4 separate regions of the Homo sapiens genome follow, and regions 2, 3 and 4 are each linked to region 1. Evidence: promoter capture Hi-C in 16 types of primary human blood cells and fetal thymus (Javierre and others, 2016). All regions are on one chromosome and are shown on one strand. Each heading gives the region's core, a stretch centred on a gene start or on the middle of the fragment in contact. The rest is flanking DNA. Distances are from core to core; before and after follow the strand shown. Region 1 holds the start of SPMIP7 (sperm microtubule inner protein 7). Region 2 overlaps ELDR (EGFR long non-coding downstream RNA). Region 3 overlaps LANCL2 (LanC like glutathione S-transferase 2). Region 4 overlaps LANCL2 (LanC like glutathione S-transferase 2).

Region 1 (6,368 bases), core at 769-3,268:
AGGGATTCTGCTAAGCACTTTACAAGTGTTAATTCATTTGATTCTTACAAATGTATAAAAGAAGTAAGATTATTCCTAATTTATGTATGAAGAAACTGAAAATTTTGGACTTCTTACAATCTGACATTTATTCTTTATTTTAGGTATTTTTACATAAAATGGCCCTTACTTATTATCTTACGAAGTTTCACTCTTAGGTGAGTTTTTTTTTTTTTTTAACATAAAATGACCCTTACTTATTATCTTATGAAGTTTTACTCTTAGGTGAGTTTTACAAGTAAGGATACACAGGCATAAAGAGAATAGTAACTAGCCCTGGGTCGTACAGCAACTGAGTTTTTGCCAGAGCTCAAGGCCAGACAGTCTGAGTCTAAAGCCTGTTCTCTAAACTCCTCTGTTTCACTGATTCAGGCAGTGAAATACATGGGACAGATGAGCTCTATACTTGGTTCTGACTTGGTGGTACAAAGTCTGTTAACACCATTTTAGCCCTATGTTAGCTTTGCTAAGCCATTTCTTCAACCTATAATTTCTTAGAATAATGTTTAAAAGTATTCTTCCTATAGCATTTGGCCCTTTCCTTTTCCGATGCTAAAAATGTTGATCTTTTTACATTCCTGCCTGCCAGACAGCTTTTATACAGAAAATAGTACCTGTGGCTTTCCTTTGGAGGTGTTTCTCATCATTTAGAGGAACTCCATTTACAGGAGTTCTTACAGAGAAACCACATGGTGCAGATGTCAGTAAGAGGTCATCAAACCTGCCTCCATGGCTGTGGAGCTATTTATGCAGAGTTTGCTTCATTTCAGCTTCTGTTCTTATTGGAGCCAAAAAATGTACGTTCAAGTACTTAAATTTTTCCCATTTTATTTCAATCCTTAAAACTAACTCTTTCATAATATCAGTGAATTCATTCTTTCAAAGGAGAGAGACAGATAAGGAGGATTTCTATACAATTATCAAAGTGATACATAAATTCCCCTGTGGTAAAACAAGCTTATCCATATATCTAGAATAAATAATGTTATATACTTTGTGTTAATCACTAATGAATGTTCTTTTCTTAAAGAATAAATTTTCTTTTACAAATAAGTTTATAAGGTTTATCATTCCTTTGTTTCTTATAATCTGTAATTTAAAAATAAAACCTTTTTCAGATCATTGTAATTTTGTTAATTTAACTGCCTAAATATTGAATCTTATGTCCATACTCTCTTCCCTTGAGCATTTAAAAAATAGAAAGTTCATGTCACTTCATTTACCTCCAAGTCTTGCTCTGATAGAAATGTCTGGTACTTCCCTGGAATTCCATCTCCTGTTCTGTTGCAGTTCTTCTGATAGAATTTTTTGCCTTTTTATTGTTGTTTGAAATCCTGTGTCTGGTCTGGGAACTCGATGTTGAGGTTTCACATCACTAAAATCCACTAGGGTTGGTATGGTTCTGCCAATGCCAGGATTTAAATCAGCATCACCACCAGGACTCATAAACCCTGAACAGGAATCACCTAAGGTCACATCATCCCGAAGTGGAAATAATGGATAATGTGGCCCATATGGTGGGGGATAAGGATCATGTAAATGATAGTCTGGCAAAACTGAAGGGGGATAAGGGTGAAATTTAAGAAAAGCAGGGTTGCATTTCTTTTCAAACCTGCCATAGTTATGTCTGTTCTCAAGACCTTTCACAAAAGGCATGTTCATTTTTCTTAAGAGATCACAATAGTGTGGGTAATCTATATTCTCAACAGTTCCTGAAAGGATGGACCTTTTAGAGATACTTATCTTTCCAGGTGTGTCCTGAATTTCTACATCCATGGCCTTTTTCTTTAGAATTTTTGATAACTATAAAGTATTTCTGATAATTCCTTTATATTTAACTATATAAACTCTATTGCCAATAACTAAAGATCTGTGTTAAACTAGTATAAAATTGACACAGCTTTCTAAATGTTGGCAGATAATTTTGTTTTTCTTTTTAAGGCAAATATTTTCCTCCACCAAAGGAAGAATAGGGCAATGAAGGAACATGACATAAGGAGAATAAAGCAGAGCCCTTGTTGCCTGGCAACGGCTAGAATTCTTAACACATTGAACCATTTATTATGTACATCACAATTCTTAAGAAAAACAAAAATAGCCTTGGTACTAATATTTCCATGATACTTTTCTCCCCAGTGCTCAGGAAAGCTGTGTTCATTTACTTATTTTAAAATTTTTCCATAAGTTGGTATTTTATGGGTATAAAATATATTTAAGGAGTGTAAATAAAGCAGTTAATTCAGTGACAATACATTTCTCAAAAGTATATATGTGACTACAATTAAGTATTTATATATATAACACTTGCTATCTAATTAAATGTAAATCTAAATGCACTACAAAATATAAACATTACTAAAGTTAAATTGGTACATCTAATTTTTTTTTTTTGGTGGAGTCTCACTCTGTCGCCTAGGCTGGAGTGCAGTGGTGTGATCTTGGCTCACTGCAAGCTCCGCCTCCCAGGTTCACGCCATTCTCCTGCCTCAGCCTCCCAAGCAGCTGGGACTGCAGGCGCCCGCCACCATGCCCGGCTAATTTTTTGTATTTTTAGTAGAGATGGGGTTTCACTGTGTTAGCCAGGATGGTCTCGATCTCCTGACCTTGTGATCTGCCCGCCTCGGCCTCCCAAAGTGCTGGGATTACAGGTGTGAGCCACTGTGCCCAGCCCTAGTATATCTAATTTTTAAGAAAAACAGAAAATTATAATGAAAGTACAGGTACATCTTTACATGCCCTAAATTATCTTTACTTCCCTTAAATTTGCCATGGTGTCCAGAGTAAGAACAGTAAGAGTTTTAAGTTCATTTTAGGAAACCACAATGGGTATCAGTTAACTGTCTACACACAAAATATCATTTAAATCACTAATGTATTGGTTCACTTAAAAGCTCTTTCACCTGGATAATTTCATCTTGCATGAACTACTATAAGAGGAAATGCAAATATTAGAATTTGGGGTAAAAGTTCACATCATCCTTACTGCAGCAAAAATGTTAAAACAGGCAAGATTCTAGCTTTGAAGAGTCAGGCACATAATCGTTAATCAGGCCAACTGTCAAGGGTGATATGTTTGGTACAATCAGAATGCCTATGCCCCATTGAAAGTCTTTACAATTTTGAGATATACTATTAAACAAGTGAGATTAAATTAGGTGGTTAGGCTGTCAGTTTTAAATCCTTCATCCAGATCATAGCATATCAAGTGACAGTTTTTAGTCCACCCATGATCACTCATTTCTTCATATCAAAAGTGATAACTCACTTGTAATTAGGCATTCTACATTTAGTTGCTCAAACTTCATTCTTCAATGTATTTAAACCAACTGCTTAAGATTTATTTCTATCACAGCTCTGCTCCCATTAAGTAAATCCTTCCAGCAGCAGAAAAGTAGAGGCATGAGTCTCTTTCAATTTCTCTAAAACAAGTTCTAGCTATAAATGGCCTCTTAGGCTGTGTATGGGAAAATAATAACCCCCATAACTTTGTACTTAGAATGGATCCTTTACAAGAGACAGATTAACAAGAGAAAAACAGATGTTTATTAATATATTTCATTTATATATGAGGAACACCCAGAGAATGAGTAGTTCTCAAAGAAGCGTCTTTGAATTCCAGCTTGTATAGCATCTTCAACAAAGACTAGGAAATTTTTAGAGATGTGACAAAGGAAAAGGACTCTGAGTCTCTACAGGCAGTAACTTGGGCTAAGCAAACAAATAGCAGACAAAAGATGGTTTAAAAAAAGCTAATATTAATTCCTCTGATATCATTTCAAGGCTAATGAGGGTCTGACGCTGTCTTCAGTGGTTAACCTTTGTTCTCCCTGGTAAAGGAGTGGGGCAGGATACCTTTTCTCTTTCTAATCTATGTCTTGCTTCTGGGTAAAAAGAGGGCAGGTGGACAGCTCTCCTGCATCTGCTGGTTCTTGTCTTCAGGGCAGCAATCCTTCATATTTGAGAAGGTATATTCTGGTCTCCCACACAGGATAGATGGTTTTGTATGTTTTGCTGAATTTAGGTGACACTATAAGATGATCTTCCGGTCTATTTTAGAAAGTAAATTTCATCTATGGTTATTTCCTCTGTCCTTCCATCAAGCTTCTTTCTGAGGCTAAAGGCCTTACTTACCTTTAATTCCCACTAAGTGTGTATTGCATTTATCTCCCAATTAAGTTCCACACATCCATAAAATACTATCTGCTGACATTACTAGATCAAAGCAGTCCACTGAGGGCTTTACACGTCTTAACTCATGCATTCTCACTATCTGTTGTTCGAAACTGGGCCCCACATCTACCACCTGGCTCATAAAAAGGGCTTTTCGATCATAAACGCTATGCAAAGGTAAAAGCACGGGATTTGGGGCCCAACGATTCTCTCTCAGCTCTAGGATCTTGGACAAATCACTGATGTTCTTGAGGATGCCCTGCGTGGCTGTGTTGTCCTGAAGGCCCGGGGGCTGCACAGCACAGTTGGCGCGTGTAGGCCCCACCAGCTATGTGGAGACACAGGCTGACCCCTAGTCTACCACCCCGGCGGAAGTGGGAGCACGTCCATCAGGTCCGTTGTTCCGGTCCTCCGCCCGCCAACTTCCGGCTGCAGGTGGGCGCGCGTTGCCTAACGACCTTCCGCGCGGACGGTGGGCAGGCGACGGCGGCGTGTGGATGGAGGCCTTCGCCCTTGGCCCAGCGCGGCGGGGCAGGCGGCGGACCCGGGCCGCCGGCTCCCTGCTCTCTCGGGCCGCCATCCTCCTCTTTATCTCCGCCTTCCTGGTGCGGGTGCCCTCATCAGGTGAGGGTCCGCGCCGCCCTGCCGGCTCCGCAGGGACAACCGCAGCTTCCCCCACTCTTCGAATTGCCTTTTCTTGTGTCACGTGCATCCGTTTTATATAGAGACACCTTGCTCACTAATACGTGACAAGAAAGGCTTATTTTTTATGGAAGTCGTACAAAGTCACTCTGCATTTGCATAGAGGAGTGAATGACAGGAAATTAAGGTATAGATGGATCACTACGTCACCCACAGTTGAAGTTTTACAATTAAATTGCTTTGTTGATAAACTCCCCAATTCAGTCCATGGGTCATCTGCCAGGTTTGCATTTCAGTGTGTGAACTCTGTAATGATGAGATCAGTGTCTTTCAAATAGGCAACCTGCTGCTTTCAAATTATCCGTGATGGTGGAGCGCCATCTATTGGTTTTAGCTGTGAAATACAGGAAATAATGCGATTTTAAAGTTTTGACCTCTAAAGAATTGAAGTACTTTTCTATACTGTTTTAAAAATACATGTAAGATACTGATGAACAAACACTGACGAAGGATGTGAAAGTTTAATTGAACTGTTATTTAACTAGAAAGGTTTTGGCTGCATTCTAGACTCAAAATTCTAGACCCAAAATTGATAAAATCACAGAGATTTGCTTCAAATGAAAAAAGTTGTTCAAATAAGGAATAATGAAAAAAAGAAGTCCTCCAAGAATATAAATGTAAAAGGTTTGTGGAGGTAGGTAGGGGATAGGGGAGGAGAAAGGAAACAAATGGAGTGAATAGAGATTTAAAAATCAAAGTCCAGGCATCAGGAATCCAAAGATTATTCTTCTATAAGTATATGAATAGCCGATAGCCATCAATTGCCATGTAGGAGAAAGATGCTTCTTGGATATGGGTCGTGGTCGTGTATTAGGTGTGAAAGGGTTTTTATTTTAAATTTTTACCTGGTGATCTTTTGATGAAATAATAAGATTAGACCTATGAGATATAAGAAATAGAATAAGCAGTTAGTATCTTGTAAGTGATGAATAGTGAAGGCCTCTTATATAGCATTTTACAATTTATACAGTATTCTCATTTTCTACAGTAACTGTAAGGATGGAATTATTATTAGTCCCATTTTACATATAAGAAAACTGAAGCTCCTAGAGTTTAAAGTGATTTTCCTAAAACCAGTAAGTGGCAGAATTAGGATTTAAACTCAAGTCCTCTGGCTTTGATACCACATCCTTTTCTTTGCACTTTGCTATTCCTGTCTGCTAAAGGCTATTTGGGTATAATGCTTTATTGCATTTTTATACTGCCCCTCACACTATTATGCCCATCACATTTGCTCATTTAACAATGAAGACTATCAGAATATGTTTCACAATTATTATTTAATATTTACAATGTGCAAGGTATAGTGTTTGATACTGATTCTTGATAAGTTAACATAAACATTGATCCCACTATCAATGGAGCTTATAATCTAATAAGGAAAATGGTATGTGTGTATCAAGAACTATAGTATAAGCCGATGTCTACAAGGGTTTTTCTGATATTATCTTCTAGAA
Region 2 (6,144 bases), core at 3,180-5,679, 5.2 Mb before region 1:
TCCAGGGCGCCGTTCACACTGAGATGAGACAGGTGGAAAAGAGAGCTCGCCCTTCTTGCATTGTCACACGGAGCGGCCCTCTCCCTGTGCAGCGTGGAGTCCCCTGGGCGCGGGCGAGGCTCAGGCGGGACGCGGCGGAGACCGAGCTTGTCCCTGTGTGGACCCGGGCAACTGCCGGTGGGCGAGGCCTGGATGGTGGCCAGGCCGCAGCCACCCGGACGTTTGCGAGCGCCGAAGGTGGGCCTGGAGGCGGGGACCTGGCCCTGCGGGGCCGGTGCGTGCGGGGCCCGGCTGAGCCGCCGGCTCCACCGGCAGGGAACCCGGCTCCCGCCTTCCCGGCAGGGAACCCGGCTCCCGCCTTCCCGGCCACACCGGGAGTGTGTGAGGGGGGACCCTTGGCCGGCAGGGGGCGCTCTCGGCCACTCCATCCGCCCGGTCACCGCGGGATCCCGCTGCTCCATCCCGCCGGTGCCGCCGTCGCGCCTCCTCCCGCAGCCCAGCTCTGCCTCCGCCTTCGCTCCCCGACTCCTCCCTTCTCCCTCTCAGTCCCGCAGGGAAGCTGGGCTGGGCGAGAGGGTGTCTCCTGGGTCCACCGTGGAAGCCCGAGGCGCGGGTGCGGAGCCAGCCCAGGGCTGCCGGCGTGAGCTGCAGGGCTGGCCTGGTGCTCATCCTCTGCCCGGGGCGCGGGAAAGGCGAGGGACGCTGTGCTGGATCTGTGTGCTCAGTGGCCATGCGTCGGCCTCAGGACTGGGAACGAGGCGAGAGACACAGATGTGGGTGATTTCCCTGTGGAAGCTGTACCCGAGGCCGTGGGAGTGGAGGGCACTGGGCTGCGAATGGAGACAGGATGCCCCGAGGGCCCGGGAGCGGGAGGTGGAGCGGGTCCCAGACGGCAGGGGCTCGGAGTGGGAGGCAGCGGGACTGGGAGAGCCGCGCTGGGGCCGCAGGGGTGCGCAGGGAGCTTCCTGCCCTTTGCACCTCAGGCTCCGGGAGCTGATTTGTTTCACCTTGGGCAGGTGCAGGATCTGCGCTTGCAGCCACCTTACTTCGTGGGCTGTACCTGAGGTGACAGGCAGGGTCTTCTCTGATGAAGTTACCCACACGAGTCACCACGGGATGACGGTGAGCAGGTGCCACGGAAGGTAACACTGAGCGCATGCGGTTAAAGGACAAGAGGGAAAGGGTGAGGGCAGACCAACGGTCATTTTCACAACTCTTCTATGTTAGTCAGGGTTCTCTAGAGGGACAGCACTGATAGGATAGACCTATATATGAAGGGAAGTTTATTAAGGAATATTGACTCACACGATCACAAGGTGAAGTCCCACAATAGGCTGTCTGCAAGCTAAGGAACAAGGAAGCCAGTCTGAGTCCCCAAACCTCAAAAGTAGGGAAGCCAACAATGCAGTCTTCAGTCTGTGGCTGAAGGCCCGGGAGCACCTGGCAAACTACTGGTGTAAGCCCAAGAGTCCAAAAGCTGAAGAACTTGGAGTCCAGTGTTTGAGGGCAGGAAGCATCCAGCTCGGAAGAAAGATGGAGGCGGGAAGACTCAGCCAGTCAAGTCCTTCCACGTTTGTCTGCCTGCTGTTATCCTACCTGCACTGGCAGCTGATTAGATGATGCCCACCCAATTGAGGGTGGGTCTGCCTCTCCCAGTCCACTGAAATGAAATGCTAATCTCCTTTGGCAATACCCTCACAGACACACCCAGGAACAGTACTTTGTATCCTTCAATCCAATCAAGTTGACACTCAGTATTAACCATCACACTCTGCAAGGAAGGTGTTTTATGTCCATTTTATAGAAGAGAAACTGAGGCTCAGAGAAGTTGTTATTTGTCCAAGATTACAGAGCCAGCTTCTGGCCAACCTTGAGCGATTCAAAAATTGAAGCCCCTTCCACTAGGTCCCACTGACATCTGGATTCCACCTGACTACTGGCTGCACAATTTCCCCTTAAGTCAGTTCCTCTGTGGTTGTGCCCAGCTGCCCCGCTTGGTAGAATTATCCAGTAGACATTTTTCAGTCCTTGTCTTCCACACCATCCCTCTGGTGTTTGACCCAGATCGTGCACTCCTCACAATGTTCCTCTCCTCTGACTCCTGCAAAGCTGCCTGCTTGCTTCTCTGCCTATTTCTCCTCAACATGTTTCATTGGCTTTCTCCTCACAGTCCACCTATGGTTGCTAGTGCTCTCAAGGTTATGTTCTTAGATATCTTCTCCTTTAACTTCACATGAAGAAGCACAAACCACAGTGGCATCATGGGCATGGAGGGAATAGTAACCTAAACAGCCAATGAATGTCAGATCCAGGAGCTGCTGGAAGATGACACAGATGCATGGCCCAAGTGAGGGGGTGGTGGGGAGAGAGGGTAGGAGCGTTTGTGAGCAATGAACCAAGCCATGTCCAGACGTGGGCTTAGGCAGAAAAATGGGGAATGTGGGGGTCCCAGGAAGCTAGCCCTTAGGAAATTGTTTTGGGTGGATTGGGGAATTTGACATGCGGAAGCTTAAAACTTACATTACTAAAGTCATGCCCTTAGGTTAGGGACTATTTTGAGTAGACACTTCAGGAAGCCTGAAGTGTCAGGGCAGCCATCAGGAGCTTGCTTTCCGTGGAGCTCTTTGAGAAAGGGCCCAGAGGGTTTGAAGTCCAACAGTCAGGATTCATAGACACTGGGGATAAGATTCATGGATCACAGTGGGACAATAAAAATTGCTTTTCCCCTGGGGCATGAGGGAGAATCTCTAGGAATTTGCAGAGAGCACTTACAGAATGACACATGGTAACACTCACATGCCATCAGCCCAGCTCCAGAAGGACTTAAACTTTTTCACAGAAAGAACAGAAAATTGGAAAGAGCAAAGCTCCCTTTCAGAGGCAGCTGGAAGCCTCTCCTCCCAGTCTGCAAGTCCCTGGGGCTCTTCCTGTCCCTGCTGCTCTGCACTGGTGTTCCAGAGGCAAACATGGCCCAGGAGCCACATTCAACCCACCATCTCCTCTGGCCAGCTTTTAATAGAGGGTGTTTCAGCTTAATTTTTAGTCAAGAGCAGGCCCTGGGACCCTGAGATCACTGAATGTATTTGGCATTCAGTTATGAAATGAGCCCCTTTAGACAGACCTCGGACTTCTTAGTGGCATCCCAGGCCCTCTATGCCCTTAACTTAGGCTTGTGATGAGGTATCCTTGCGTCTGCTGGTCTTCCTAAAGAGGACCAGCCCCTGGAGGCAAACCTCATTGACTAATCCAGGTACTCTTTCCAATGTGCGGGAGGCCCCCACTAGGCTGCAGTTCTCAGCTGACTGGAACTGACGCCTCAGAGGAGATGTGCTGACCCACTGAGCCCTAGATCTTTCTAGACGTGTTTTTACTCCACCCTACCTTCTCCAGCTCTCTTTGCTCTTGATTTCTGATTTGTGGCTTTGGGCTCCTAACTCTCTATTTTTTCATATTGTTGTTTCTGCCTAGAATGCTCTCCCCATCACCCGACAACTCCTCAGGTCGAGAGTACCTTTTCAGACCTCAGGCCTCTGTGACACCAGACAGTGGCACAAACTCATGCTTCCCTCAGTTTCCACAGAAAACCATGGAATCAAGGAAAGACAAACATGGGCAAAGGCACAGTAGGGTAAAGCAAAAGACAACCACACCCCAATCTCCAGGAAAACTTTCACTGATGTCAAGGTGAATGGTAATCAATTGCCAAGTGTACCTCAGCCTCCTGAGTAGCTGGAACTACAGGCACAAACTACCTTTAGAGATGGAGTCTCATTATGTGTCCCAGGCTGGTCTCGAACTCGTGGCCTCAGGCCATCCTCCTGCATATCTGGGATTACAGGCACAAGCCACTGCACCTGGCCCTTCCTTCTTAACTAGTACAGGAAGGTGGAGAACTTGGGGACACATTCCCAACCAGCAAGAATGCAGTCCATGTGGGCTGGAGACATTCTTCATGCCCTGTTTTCATACATTGTGGCTAGCCCAGAGAGATCTCTCCACTCAGGGATGAATGAGCACATCTTTCTTTCACCTACCAATCACCAATCACCCGCTGCAATACACCATGCAATCTCTGGTGTGTTTTAAGCACAATGATTCAGCCCACCCTGACATGGGTCCCCCCAAATCTTTACCCAAACAGGTCCACTCCAAACCACGTTAACAAGCCACGAGACCTTTATCAGGGATTTTGTAGGTGTTCAGTGTAGAGGGTTTATGCTGCAAACCCTATGGTATAACTTCACTTAAAAACCCTCCAGGCCGGGCGCGGTGGCTCACGCCTGTAATCCCAGCACTTTGGGAGGCCGAGGTGGGCGGATCACGAGGTCAGGAGATCGAGACCATCCCGGCTAAAACGGTGAAACCCCGTCTCTACAAAAAATACAAAAAATTAGCCGGGCGTAGTGGCGGGCGCCTGTAGTCCCAGCCACTTGGGAGGCTGAGGCAGGAGAATGGCGTGAACCCGGGAGGCGGAGCTTGCAGTGAGCCGAGATCCCGCCACTGCACTCCAGCCTGGGCGACAGAGCGAGACTCCGTCTCAAAAAAAAAAAAAAAAAAACCCTCCAAATATATCTTTTCCCCTGGATTCTCTCCTGGAGTCAGCTGCCTCGTTTTCCTCCTAAGAATCTCTGTGTCTGGGCCTCTCTGGCTGGGCTGCTGCAGCCCCTGACTTCCCTGCACAGTTCCTCTTAGTCTCTCCCATTTGCGTCTTCATCCTCATTTGCTGCTGGCCTAACATAGATTGTCCTTGGGATTTGACCCTGTGCTGGAGGCTACTGGCACTCTCCCATGCCTGCCCTCCCTTCTCTCTACAATAATGCATTTGGAATTTTTAGTTGGGTGAACAACCACCCAGAGTAGACTCTACTTCCCAGTGAGGTGTGGCCGTGTGAATCACTCCGATGGGACACGAGTGACATGTGGACACCAGCTCCTAGAAGGGCACTGAAGAGCAGCGACACACTCCTTCCCAGCCCTTGCCTCCTTTCTCCGGGAATACTGTGGTTAGACTCAGGACAGCCCCCTGGAGGCTGTGTGCTGAAGCTCTGTGCCTGAGCCGCAAAGAAAAAATAGAACATGGGCCCCTGATGGATGATTCGACCTTTTATTTCAACTTAAAAAAATGTTTCCAAGTTTTCTCTGTTGTATTTTTTTCTACATGCATTATTTTTTTACCATCCGTAAAAAAATAATTTGAGGCCTATTTTAAATCTTACTTTATTGACTTCCATGATTTTCTCCTATCACAGAAAAAATAAAATAATTGATAACTAGATTCTGAAAATATTTTACAGTTTTGACAACAGGAGTTTGGAGTCCTGGCAGCAGAGGTCCCATTTGGGCCCCTGATTTTCTCTCTCCAGGTCTTCAAGTCTTTAACTGAGCCTTGCGTCTACTGGCCCTGCTCTCCTGCAAACTATTTGACCGTAGGATTTCCCTTCACCACAACATGTGAGGAGCAAAGGAGACAAAGTGAGGGGAGTCAAAGGGTGGTGTTGGTAGAGAGAGAAGAGTCAGTTGCTCCTGTATTCCTGCTTTTTGAGGAGCCAATAAAATGTTTTTTTTAGGCGGAAGGTAGTTACTGGGCCTTCTACTCATTCATGATCAAACCTGGACAAAAACCTGAAGTGCTGCCTCTGCTTCTCATCCTTGTACAGGGCTCAGAGCCCAGGTCCAGGCTCTTTGACTGCAGGAGTGGGAGCTGGGGTCGAGGAGACAGACTGTACTGTATGCCGACCTCCACATTATGAGGCCTGCTCCACTGGAAATCGTCTGGAGGGAGCTGTAGTCACAGCTCTCAGATGGCCAGGCATGCCTCCTTCCTTTGCAATCTGCACAGTCCTCTCCTGGAGGAATGTGGAGAGATCGCTTTGCCGGAGCCTCCTCACTTAACCTGAAACTCGGGTCATGGTCTGAAGGAGGCAGTTCTGCGTCACTCTTAATGATGAAACCAGAGGAAAGAGGCTCTTACTGCTCTAGTTTTCTAAATTTCAAAGATGCAAAGTCTCAGCAAACTCAGAATATAATTGAGCTTCCCCAGGAAAAAGTCTGCGTAGTTCTGGTTCTCTGGCTCTTCTTGATCTTTCTACCCAAGGAGGTCCTATTCACAGAACCATATATATCTCTTGCTAATCTCTCAAGTTA
Region 3 (5,566 bases), core at 2,546-5,045, 5.3 Mb before region 1:
GGTCACCATTTTTAGTTTCACTCTGGTCACCATCCATAATCCTGTGTTCTTTACAGACTATACTATGCAAATATTGTTTGCTCCTGAAACAGGAAATACACTGAATTACAGATATTCTTTTACACCTTTTAGTTTTTCCTGGAGTAACTTTCTCACATTTTATTTGCTTAGTTTTCTTTAAACCAGTACCTAAGCTTTTTCATACCCACCAACAGCTCTGTAAAAAGTCTCTCGATAAGATTTTCCACATGGTCAAATCTACTATGACTTTGCTTTCCCTGGAGGCGACTCTCCATAATTGGCTGCTTTCCAGGTCTTCTGTGACACTGCTGTCCTGGGACTTGCACCTGTCAACTTCCTGGGGATTCTGCTCCCCTGTCTTGTATGGGAGCCCCTCTTCCCTGGATCTGATCCTCCTTCTTAGAGTACTCCCTTGTTGTGGTAGACACCACACTCCAGTAGCTTCCTGAGATGAAGTACAGGGAAATTAAATTTGGGGGACAGGATGTTTTAAACAGTCTTTGCTCTACTCCACATTTAATTGGTAACTTTCTGGGCAGAATGCAACGTTAGAAATCATTTTTACTCAAAACTTGGAAGTTGGCCGGGCACGGTGGCTCACGCCTGTAATCCCAGCACTTTGGGAGGCCGAGGCGGGTGGATCATGAGGTCAGATCGAGACCGTCCTGGCTAATACGGTGAAACCCCATCTCCACTAAAAAATACAAAAAAAAAATTAGCCGGGCATGGTGGCAGGTGCCTGTAGTCCCAGCTACTCAGGAGTTGAGGCAGGAGAATGGCATGAACCCGGGAGGCAGAGCTTGCAGTGAGCCGAGTTCGCGCCAGTGCACTCCAGCCTGGGCAACAGAGCAAGACTCCGTCTCAAAAAAAAAAAAAACTTGGAAATCATTTCCATTTATCTTTTAGCTTCAATGAAACTGTTGCAAAGTCCAATGTCATTTTTGGACTTTGTACATAACCTGTTTTTTTCTTTTCTTTTTTTTTTTTTTTGAGACAGAGTTTCACTGTCGCCCAGGCTGGAGTGCAGTGGCACGATCTCGGCTCACTGCAACCTCCACCTCCTGGGTTCAAGCAATTCTCCTGCCTCAGCCTCCCGAGTAGCTGGGACTACAGGCGCATGCCACTACACCCAGCTATTTCCCGTCTAATGTTTTAAGCATTGTCTCTTTATCCCTTTATCTTAAGCTTTCACAATAACGGGCATGATGTGGATTTGTCTGTCTGCACTCATTGTGTAGGAAACTGGTAGGTCTTTCCAATATGCAACTATGTCCCTCATTTCTTTTTTTTTCTTTTTTTTTGAGACAGGGTCTCATACTGTTACCCAGGCTGGAGTGCAGTGGCGTGATCTCGACTCACTGCAATCTCTCCCTCCCGGGTTCGAGCGATTCTCCTGCCTCAGCCTCCCAAGCAGCTGGGATTGCAGGTGCCCGCTATGAGGCCCAGGTAATTTTTTGTATTTTTTTAGTAGAGACGGGGTTTCACTGTGTTGGCCAGGCTGGTCTCAAACTCCTGACCTCAGTGATCCGCCCACCTCGGCCTCCCAAAGTGCTGGGATTACAGGCATGAGCCACTGCGCCCAGCCTATGTCCCTCATTTCTAGAGCATATTTTTGTGTTATTTTCCTCCCTCCTATTGTGTGTTCTCCCTCACTAGGTCTCCCACTAGTCACATGCTGAACCTCCTGGATTAATCCTCTTTCTTACGTTTTCCTCTCCCATTGTCTATTTCTGCCTGCTTTCTAAGATATGTGACTTTGCTTCCCATTTTCATGAACTTATTAAAAATTCAGCTATTATATATTTTATTTTCAAGAGCTCTCTTTTTCCCTCAAATGTTTGTTTCTTGGATGCAACAGCTTCTCTTATTTCCCTGAGGATATTAATTATGAATTATTATTTATTCGAAGCTTTCTTCCACTTCCTGCTTTCTCTTTGTTTTTATTTCTACTTGTTCAGGTCTCCATCTTTCAAGCTGGGGCTTTTCTGCCATGTCCGCTCATCGGCTACTGGTCTGTGCTCACGCATAAGGCACAGCTCCTCGCTGTCCTCAGTGCACCGGAGGGGCTGCGGAACGGTGGGAATCACTGTGGAGTGGCTGGATGGGGGATTGCCAGGGGTCTCCAAAGAAGTAGACCAACGGGATGTGTAAAAGTAGAGAAAGAGATTCACTCCAAGGAACTGGCTGCAGAGGCTTCATGAGTCCACAAACTGCCTGGGGTGGCCAGCAAGCTGGAGACTCAGGAAGGAGCTGCAGCTGGAGTCTGAAAGCAGAGTGCTGGAGAATCCTCTCTTGCCTGGGGGTCCAGCATTTTGTTCTAGTCAGACCTTCAACTGATTGACAAGGCCCACTCACATCCTATGGGGCAGCTGGCTTCACTCAAAGTCCACCAACTTAAATGTAAATCTCATTCAAAAACGCCCTCAAAGAAACATCCAGAATGTCTGACCACATGTCTGGGCACCAGGGCTCAGTCAAGTTGACACATAAAATTAACCATCATGGATGGCAGACTAACTTTTTAATGGGGGCTTTCAAATACCTGTACTTATGAAACTTTTATCTGAGCTACTTGTTTCTTCGGAAAAGTGACTTCAAGCCCCGAGTGGGGTGGAGGTGGTGCTGCCCCTTGGGGTGAGGGAGAGGTGACGGTGCCTGAGGCTGGCGGTGACAGAGAGGCAGTCTCACCCTGGACCATGGACACTCACTCTCGCCCCCTATTTTTAGTTCTGTGCTTCACTCCAACTCTCTTCTACATCTGGCTTTCCTGAATTGAAAAGAGCCTAGTCAGTTTTTCCAGACCTAACTCCTTTTGTCTCCAGCACGAGTTGAAGGATAGGCAGTTCCCTCCCTGTGCTGGGTGCAGGTGCTCACAGAGGTCCAACCACTGCACATGCTCAAAGAAGCCTCCTGTGCCAGAGAGTCCCCCAAGCCCACGTATGGCAATGCCTACTGGGGACATGGCACTTTCCCCTCCTGAGTTCTGGGGTTCTGTAGAACAAACTGACTTGCTTCTCGTGGGCACCGTCCCCCTCGGGCACTGACGCCATCTTTCATCCCAGCAGGTCAGCTGTCATTCTTTTGCCTGCTTCAGTTCACAGGTTTGCAGCTGGAGCTCCAGATGTCCCCTAGCTTCATCAAAGAACTTCGGTTTCTGTTTTGTTGTTTTTCTGGTTGTTCTGAGATTATTTTCAAGAGGCGAACTGTTTTTATTCTGCTATCATGAAAGTGGAGTTCTTTTTAAGTGATATTTTAAGAGTTTTTGCATATATTGTTCTGATAGCCTTCCAACGACACCCTCCAGTTGAAACTACCACTTTTACATGACTAAACTACTAGACAATGAGAAATAAGAACCAAATTCTAAGCCCCCAACTCACTGAGCAGACCCTTTCTTGGCCAAGGAAGCCTGAGGCAACCTTGAAGCTAAGCTCCCAGTCATGACAGGCTAAGAGGTGGGGCTCACCCTGCTCTGCCCGTCCCCTGCTGACCCCATGAGGCTTTCTGCCCTAAGGGCTAAGCGGGAACCAGATCTTTCAGCCGACTCTGCACTGCCAGCGACAACCACCTGACTGCTCCCCCATCTTCTGTGGCTTCAACAACCCAAGCAGCCAGCACTTGTTCCTGAGAAGGCACCAGGGACGCTCTGGCCAGCCTATGAAGGACATGCAGGGAGGGGTTTTGTTCCTCTGCTTCACCTTTTGACTCAGAGGGTGGAAAATGCTACCCTTGGATCCCGCTTGTGCCACCATTTTCTGAACATGGATCTCAAGAAGGAGCACGAAGTCCAAGTCTGCAGGCACACACTTCTCTAGCAACTACTCCACTCCTCCTGCAGCTCACCGACACATACATTCGGCCACCTGGCTTGGCATACGTTCCTGCTCCCTTTCCACTCCCTCAGAATATTTCTGGCTTCTAGCCCAAGGCTACGTATGATTAGCTGCAGGCTGTAACCCTGTATGAGAAACAAAGCCCTCCTTTCCACATTTCTGAATCGTAGTTCTGCACTGACAACAGCCACGAACCGTGCAGCAGGGAAGAGATGCGGGCAGCTCCCCATGCTGGCTCTACCACGCCACTGCCTAAGAATCTTGAAAGAAAACCTGGCTCAATCTCTAAGTCAAGTACTTACTACATAGTGTTCCAAGTTCCTCACTTTAAAAGCAGATCAATGGAGTATTTTATGATTTGTATTCCTCCCAAGGAAGTCCATAATATACAGCAAAATCAGCCTAAACACATGAAAGACACTGGCATGGTTCTTACATTACTATGTTCCCCTAAGGGAATTAGCATTAAAAAAAAAAAGTTCCGGCCAGGCATGGTGGTGGACGCCTGTAATCCCAGCACACTCGTGGGGCTGCAGGAGAATCACTTAAACCCGGGAGATGGAGTTTGCAGTAGGCAGAGATTGTGTCACTGCACTCTAGCTTGGGCAAAAGTGAGACCCTGTCCCAAAAAAAAAAAAAAAAAAAAGTTCCTGAACCACTGTTAAAACATTTTCCCGGGAAAATACAGAATACACTATGATAGATAATTTTATGTGTCAAATTAAACATGGTGTCTGGGTGTGTCTCTAAAGGTGTTTCCAGTTGAGATTAGCATTGAACGGTGTGGACTCAGTCAGGCAGATGGCCCTCCCCAAAGTGGGTGCACCTCATCCAGTCCCTCCAAGGCCTGAACAGAACCAAAGGCAGAGAAAGAAAACATCTGTTCCTTCCTGCCTGCCGGCTTCAACCAGGGCAACAGTCTCCTCCTGCCCTTGGACTGGGATTTGGCTCCCCTGGGTCTCAGTCTTCTGACTCGGAGTGGAGTTACAGCCCTGGCATTCCCAGGTCTTAGGACTGTAGATGACAGATGATGGGGCTTCTGGGACTCCATGGTTGCGTGAGCCAATTCCTTTAAGAAATCCCATCTCATATATAATATTTATCTCCTATTGGTTGTTTCTCTGGAGAACCCTAACACATACACAAAATCTAACTGTTCAAAATAACAGTGCCATTTTTAAATGAGGTATGGAATTCTGGTTACTTTGAAAGCATGTACCTGCATCATGAAGAAAATTCACAAGCCTGTAATCCCAGTACTTTGGGAGGCTGAGGTGGGTGGATCACCAGAGGTCAGGAGTTCGAGACCAACCTGGCCAACATGGCGAAACTCCATCTCTACTAAAAATACAAAAATTAGCCAGGTGTGGCGGTGCATGCCTGTAATCCCAGCTACTCAGGAGGCTAAGGCAGAAGAATGGCTTGAACCCAGGAGGCGGAGGTTGCAGTGGGCTGAGATGGCGCCACTGCACTCCAGCCTGGGCGACAAAGCAAGATTCCATCTCAAAAAAAAAAGAAAAAAAAAGAAAGAAAATTCACAAAATGAACTATATGCATATATGCATGTTTTACTTTCAACAACAATAAACAAAGACAATAACTAGAAAAAGTTTTAATCCTGTGTAGGTATGAATTTCCTGGTTTCCTTTAGTGAGTGAGAACATGAGGCAGTAGGTTAGACATAAAAAGAATCTGAAGTAAAATTTTAAAAA
Region 4 (5,726 bases), core at 944-3,443, 5.3 Mb before region 1:
CTTCAATATTCACTCTTGCTATTTTTTCTACTTACTAATATTTCTAATTGCTAATATTAATTATTCATACTTCTTTATATGATATTAAATATATTTAAGTAATTATTCAAGCTTCCCATGAATACACCAATATTAAATATGCAACATTACAGATGAAATGCAGAGGAGTAAACTATTTCTTCCATTGCTAACAGCAAGCCTTCTACGTTCTGTCTGCATAGACACCTCACAAAAAACCTAAGAACACTTGGAAGACATTCACAGGAGCACAAAACAATAGGTAAGGTGAAGAGATTCAACATAATTTTCAGCAATAAGCTACTCTGCTGATTATTTTACAGTTTGGAAGTATTACTTGAGCCAGGTCAAATATGAACAGTGCCAGTCCACAAGGGCAGGAGAACCAATTTCACCCAAACATTTAATCTATAGCATTTTTCTCACTCTTACCTTCAAAGAGCGAATAGGGTCTGTCAGGAATGCGGCACCCGTGTGCTCCGTAATCTAGACACCACTCTGCAAACTGAAAAGAAAGGGATTTCTTTTTAAGACTGGAGTTTCTACCTGGTGAAAAGGCAATAAATGAGAATGCAATGTCTTCACAGGCATCAGGGAAGTGGACCCCCAGCTGTAGGGCATTCAGCGTGGGCTCCATGGGCTACTGCACCCCCTCTTCCAGGGGTGAGGCCCAGCAAGGCTCTGCTTGCGGCTGCCTCAGCTGTAGAGTGGGGTCTGCCTTACAGCTGCTGGGAAGTCCGAGGTGAAAACCGAACGGCTCAACGACACTCTGTTCTCCCTGGCACCTTCCTCCTGCCGCTTCAGCTGATGATTCCAGAAGCAACTCGAAACGCCTGCTCTATCCTGAACAAAAAACCCTGGCTCTAAAATGGCTCTCAGCAGCAGCTGCTGGCTCCCCTGGCCCCAGCTGGGAAACAGCTTCAGCCCTGCCTGGGGCGCCGCCTCTCACTGCAGCCCCTCCACAGCTGCTGCTGCTGCTTGGCAGCCTCTCCACCTTCCCAGCCCCCGGCCCTCAGCCCTCCCTGTGCTCTCCTCTGAGCTCCTTGACCCTTTCTTCTTAGACCTCTTCAATGGGTGTTTCCATATCGTTTTAATAAACTTCCCTTTTGTGCCTAAGCTATCATAATTTGAAGGGTCATTTGTACACTAAGAATCATAAGTAATAAACATGAGGAGTATCAAGTTCAGCACACGTAAAAAGAAACTCACTCTGCTTTTCCCCTCCCAATCTGCTCACTCTTAGCTTGTTTGATGGCCCATCTACCCAGTTTTCCGAGTCAGACAACAGAAAGACCTTCAGATATTTCCATCTTCTCCACATTTAAAAACATGCGTTAAATTCTGTGGGCTTTACATCATAGGTGTTTCTAAATGTCTCATTTTTTATCCCAACCTATGCTTTGGTTTATGACTCAACATTTCTTGCATTAATTACTAAACCACTATTTGGGGAAACCCAAGCCCGCCTCATTCTTCCTACTGGGACTACAGCAATCTTTCCAAAAGAGGAGTCTGAATATGGATTCCAAACCCTTCCATGAGCCCCCATCTTCCATATCAGTATCCAGTGCTAGCTGATTATTAAACTTACTGGGGGAGCTTGAAAAATATTAGTGCTGAGGCTTCCTCATTTAACTGGTCTAGAGTGAGGTCCAGGCATGATTTGAAAGCTTCCCAGTGGTACAAGGTTGAGAACTACTGGCTACAGGGAAGAACTAACTTTCTCTGGCCTCTACCCACCTGTCTGACTTTTACCTTTGGCCACACATTTCCTTCCCTTTGCATCCCAAAGGCTGAAGTGCTTACGGAGTCAGGAACACACAGAGCTGGTTCGTGCTCTGCAGCTCTGCCCAAGCTATTCTCCTTATCAGAACTGCATTCCACCTCTGCAGGCCACCCCTGCCTGGCCCACCTGAAAAACCCCTCATCTTTAAAGAACCGGCTGCGTCTCACCCCTCCTGCGGTCTTCTCGCATTGCCCATATTTGCATAGTCATCTACCATCATCACATCATCAAGGCTGGCCCAGGCCTGCGGAATCTGGCTGCTCCCCGCTCGCTGGCTCCTGTTTTGCCCCATCCCCCGTGCTCCAGCCACAGTGTAGTTCACACAGGCCCTGGGTGCTCACACCTCCGGGCCTTTGGAACAGCAGTTTCTTCTCCTTTTCACATCTTTCCTCATCCCCCTTTGCTTAATTTCGAGCTGTCCCTCAGGTCTTGGCTGAGACATCCCTTGCTGACCTGCTATGCCAAGTTGGGCCCTGCCCTCTTTGCTTCCACAGCCTCCTTCATGCTTCCATCAGTGGGGGAGCCACAGATGTGTGTGCATTTTCCAGTGCACCAACGAGGTAGGGCCCATTCCACTGGGGTTGAGAAGTCTTCAGAAAGTAATAGATGTTCAAAAAGTATAAAGAACATATCAGCCGCAATGCCTCCATCTAACAAGGGTCACTGTACACACTTTAGTGTATTTTCTTCCAATCTTTTTTCTGTGTGCACACAACTACATTTTGTGAAATGTGTACATAATAAAAATACTAGCAAACATTTACTGAGTCTTGCTCTATGCCATTCATCTTCACATGTCCAGTGCATGTTTACTGAGTTTCTACTCGGTGCTATGCACTGCTCCAAGTACTAGTGTAGAATAGTGACCCAGACAGACAAGATCAAGAAGCTTATGTTCTACCAGCCTACACACTCAAGAAACAAGCCAAAACATACAATGAGCAACTGAGTGATCATCCACTTGGGGGGTCTCAAAGATCCCTCCAAGAATGTCACAATTCAGATCAGCATGGCAAGGAGCTGAAGGAAGAGTGCTCCTGAAGGGAACAGTTAACGACAGGTCCAGCGGAAACAAGAGTGACACACTCCGTTCTTAGAGAGGGCAACATGGCTGTATTATGGCGGGCTAGAGGGCAGGGTAAGGCAAGGAGATCAGGCAGAGACACAGAGAGGGGCCAAGGTGCGCAGGGCTCTGTCAACTCAGCGGAGGAGCATAGGCTCCATCTGCAGTCAATGGGAAGCCGTGGAGGGTTTTGGCAGGACGATTACAAACAATCTGCACATTAGCTCAGTTCTGCTTGGAACATCCTTAGGAGGTGGGTAGTATTTTTTTTCTGTCTGTACAAATGAGGAAACTGAGGCTTGAAGAAGAGACATATCCAAACTCATAAAGCCAATAAATGGCACAGGTGGTAATTCTCATCACGTAGTGACTCCAGGACACATATTCTTCAGAAGCCATTGACATTTGTCCTCTCCATTCTACAGACAGGGACACTGTGGCCCAGAGAAACCACAGATAAGGCTGTGCCAGAAGAAAAAGAGGAAGCTACAGAACTGGGAGAAACAGGTTAAAAGAAGGAACAGGAGTTGTACTTCTGGACTCTGGATTCTGTGCACACTCGGGGTTGTTCAGAAGCAGTTCCAACAGAGCCACCCTCACCTTGCAAGCTCGGTAGAGGTACTTCTTATCCTGCGTGAGACGGTAAAGGGACAGGAAGGAATAGCCGTTGCCAGCAGTCCCATGGCATATCCCGTAGCCCTTCCGCAGCAAACCTCGCTGCCAAATCACATCGCTACACTCCATGGCCTCTTTCAAGTACTTCTCCTCCTTAAAGACCTGGGCAAATTAAAAACAAAGCAGTGTTAAAAAGACAGTTTCAACGATGAGTTGGCAAAATACTTTCCCTTTCTGGTTAGAATATGGCATGATATTAGGAAAACTGAAATGGCACTGGGGGTGAAAAACAGACAAACAAACAAAAAAACACCAGCAACACAGTACATAGAATCTCGCAATCTCAATCCATTAGCCCAGCGGTCTCCAACCTTTTTGGCACCAGTGACTGGTTTTGTGGAACCATTTTTCAATGGCCAGGAAGGTGAGTGGGGGATGGTTTCGGGATGAAACTGTTCCAGCTCAGATCATCAGGCATTAGTTAGATTCTCATAAGGAGCGCGCAACCTAGATCCCTCGCATAAGCAGTTCACGATACGGTTCGCTCTCCTGCGAGAATCTAATGTGGCCGCTGATCTGACAGGTGGCAGAGCTCAGACAGTAATGCAAGTGATGGGGAGCGACTGTAAATACAGTTGAAGCTTCGCTTGCTCGCTGCTGCTCACCTCCTGCTGTGCAGCCCAGTCCCTAACAGGCCACGGACCAGTACCAATTCACAGCCTGGGGGCTGGGGACCCCTGCATTAGCCTATTCCCCTTGTCCTCCTTCTGTTTCACGGTTTTACTAAAGTAATGCTAAAATTTAGTTTTTAAAATTAAAATTAAAGCTGCCATATCTTTTTGGTAAGATGTTTTCCTTGTTTCTTGGCACATACATCCCATAGCTCTAAAACTTCTGCTCTTGTAGAAGGCAATCGAGAGAGTGAGGCCCTGTTAGCAGGGCAAGAGTATCCAATACACTGATCAGTACACATCAACAGGACCTGAGGACCCTGCACCACCAGGCTAGGAAGATCCATCTTCACCCATCCCAAGGAAGCTGGCACAAAGCTTTCTGGGGTCCAGGAGCAAGCACCACCTCCCTGAGTTGTTTATATGGTCAGCTGCAGAGACAGGCAGGCTCAGTGAAGGCAAGAGACGGCAAGAAGCAGCTGTGGGTTTTCACTTCCTGAGATTCCCTTGTACATTTTCTTCTTTCTCCTCACAGGCCATGTACTGTTTTCCTGATCCTTTTCTCAGAGTCTGTTCTTAGTTATCCCTACCTGCTAAACTCATCACATTCCAGTGCAAATGGGTTTTGGACAATGAATCAGAGGCACAAAGGTCATCACTACTTGGGTGGCAGGTCAGGTCCCTCTACTTGTGACTGATGAGCTGGACACTCAGCCGAGAAGGGCTCTGAGGCCTCAGGAAAAAGGCGGAGGTTGGGGGGCAGGGCATGAGAACTGCGACCAGTGTCTACAGAGGGCACAGCGGGAAACAGAGGCACAGCAAATCACCAGGGAGATTAAATGTTCCCAAAGTTAGGCTGTTAGGGAATCAGACGCAGGACACCCTCTATCAGTCACAAAGGCTGCTAAGATGTGGGCTCTGGGGTCAGACAGCCTGAGCTGAGTCCCTACTGTCACCTTTTAACTGTGTGACCTTGGATAAGTCACTGAAAGTCTATGTCTTAGTTTTCTCAACTATAAAGGGATGACATTCCTTCACCTCAGTGGCTTGCTATGAAGATTAAAATGTGATCACATCCATGGAGCTCCTGGAACAGTGCCTGGCACATGGGAAGTGCTAGCTATTTCCTGGCTATGATTAACCATTACTCTTTCTACGGTATTGTGCCGGCACACACACTTCATCCTGTCACTTGCATCTTAAGCCTCTGAAAATGAACTGTAAAGGAAAACATGTTTTCCCATCCTAAGGAAATATTTGGTCAAAGCTAATGGGTGAGAAGATATTGTTTGAGAGGCTGTGTTCTGAAATCACACAGTGAGGCCAGCCCTAAAGTGAGCTGGAGCTGCCCCTGCTGGTGGAGCCTGGGTGAGTGATGGTCCACAGGGAAACTGAACAGGGTTCCTTCATGCCGTCCCTGCGCCTGCGAGGCTGAGGCTGCTAGAGCCATGCCCACAATGCAGCCTGCACTGCTGCTTCTCAGCACCAGCAGCCTACCATGCCCACTCCTGCCACCACATACACTCATGCTCTAAGCAAACAGCTACTTCTAACAGCGAGACATCCAAGAATT

What was found. The method cuts DNA at HindIII sites, captures the fragments that hold promoters and counts their contacts. A CHiCAGO score of 5 or more calls a contact.
Region 2: a fragment that was not itself captured here is called in contact with the fragment with the promoter of SPMIP7 in region 1 in 1 of 17 cell types (neutrophils); the score reaches 6.0 in neutrophils.
Region 3: a fragment that was not itself captured here is called in contact with the fragment with the promoter of SPMIP7 in region 1 in 1 of 17 cell types (neutrophils); the score reaches 11.0 in neutrophils.
Region 4: a contact is called between a fragment that was not itself captured here and the fragment with the promoter of SPMIP7 in region 1, in 1 of 17 cell types (neutrophils). The highest score is 8.2, in neutrophils.

The regions. Positions count from the first base shown.
Region 1 is chr7:50,091,533-50,097,900 of GRCh38, reverse strand. SPMIP7 (sperm microtubule inner protein 7) reads right to left here and starts at 2,018. Exons shown (of 9, transcript NM_001161834.3): 1 at 1,263-2,018. The coding sequence starts at 1,815. It overlaps ZPBP (zona pellucida binding protein), which reads left to right and starts at 4,655. Exons shown (of 8, transcript NM_007009.3): 1 at 4,655-4,833. The coding sequence starts at 4,707. It overlaps LOC124901630 (a long non-coding RNA gene), which reads right to left and starts at 4,622. Exons shown (of 2, transcript XR_007060321.1): 1 at 4,171-4,622; 2 at 3,560-4,086. RefSeq lists silencers at 4,562-4,721, 4,802-4,851. The HindIII fragment of the contact is 3,144 bases long and covers 999-4,142 here.
Region 2 is chr7:55,249,280-55,255,423 of GRCh38, reverse strand. It overlaps ELDR (EGFR long non-coding downstream RNA), which reads left to right. Exons shown (of 4, transcript NR_110426.1): 2 at 6-237. Among named protein-coding and RNA genes, the nearest start is that of ELDR, 3.3 kb to the left of the region's middle. RefSeq lists a silencer at 113-672. The HindIII fragment of the contact is 3,838 bases long and covers 2,511-6,144 here.
Region 3 is chr7:55,404,425-55,409,990 of GRCh38, reverse strand. All of the region lies in intron 5 of LANCL2 (LanC like glutathione S-transferase 2), which reads right to left. Among named protein-coding and RNA genes, the nearest start is that of LANCL2, 42 kb to the right of the region's middle. The HindIII fragment of the contact is 3,726 bases long and covers 1,933-5,566 here.
Region 4 is chr7:55,423,172-55,428,897 of GRCh38, reverse strand. LANCL2 (LanC like glutathione S-transferase 2) reads right to left here. Exons shown (of 9, transcript NM_018697.4): 7 at 3,468-3,644; 8 at 451-523. Among named protein-coding and RNA genes, the nearest start is that of LANCL2, 61 kb to the right of the region's middle. RefSeq lists enhancers at 406-908, 909-1,413. The HindIII fragment of the contact is 1,005 bases long and covers 1,691-2,695 here.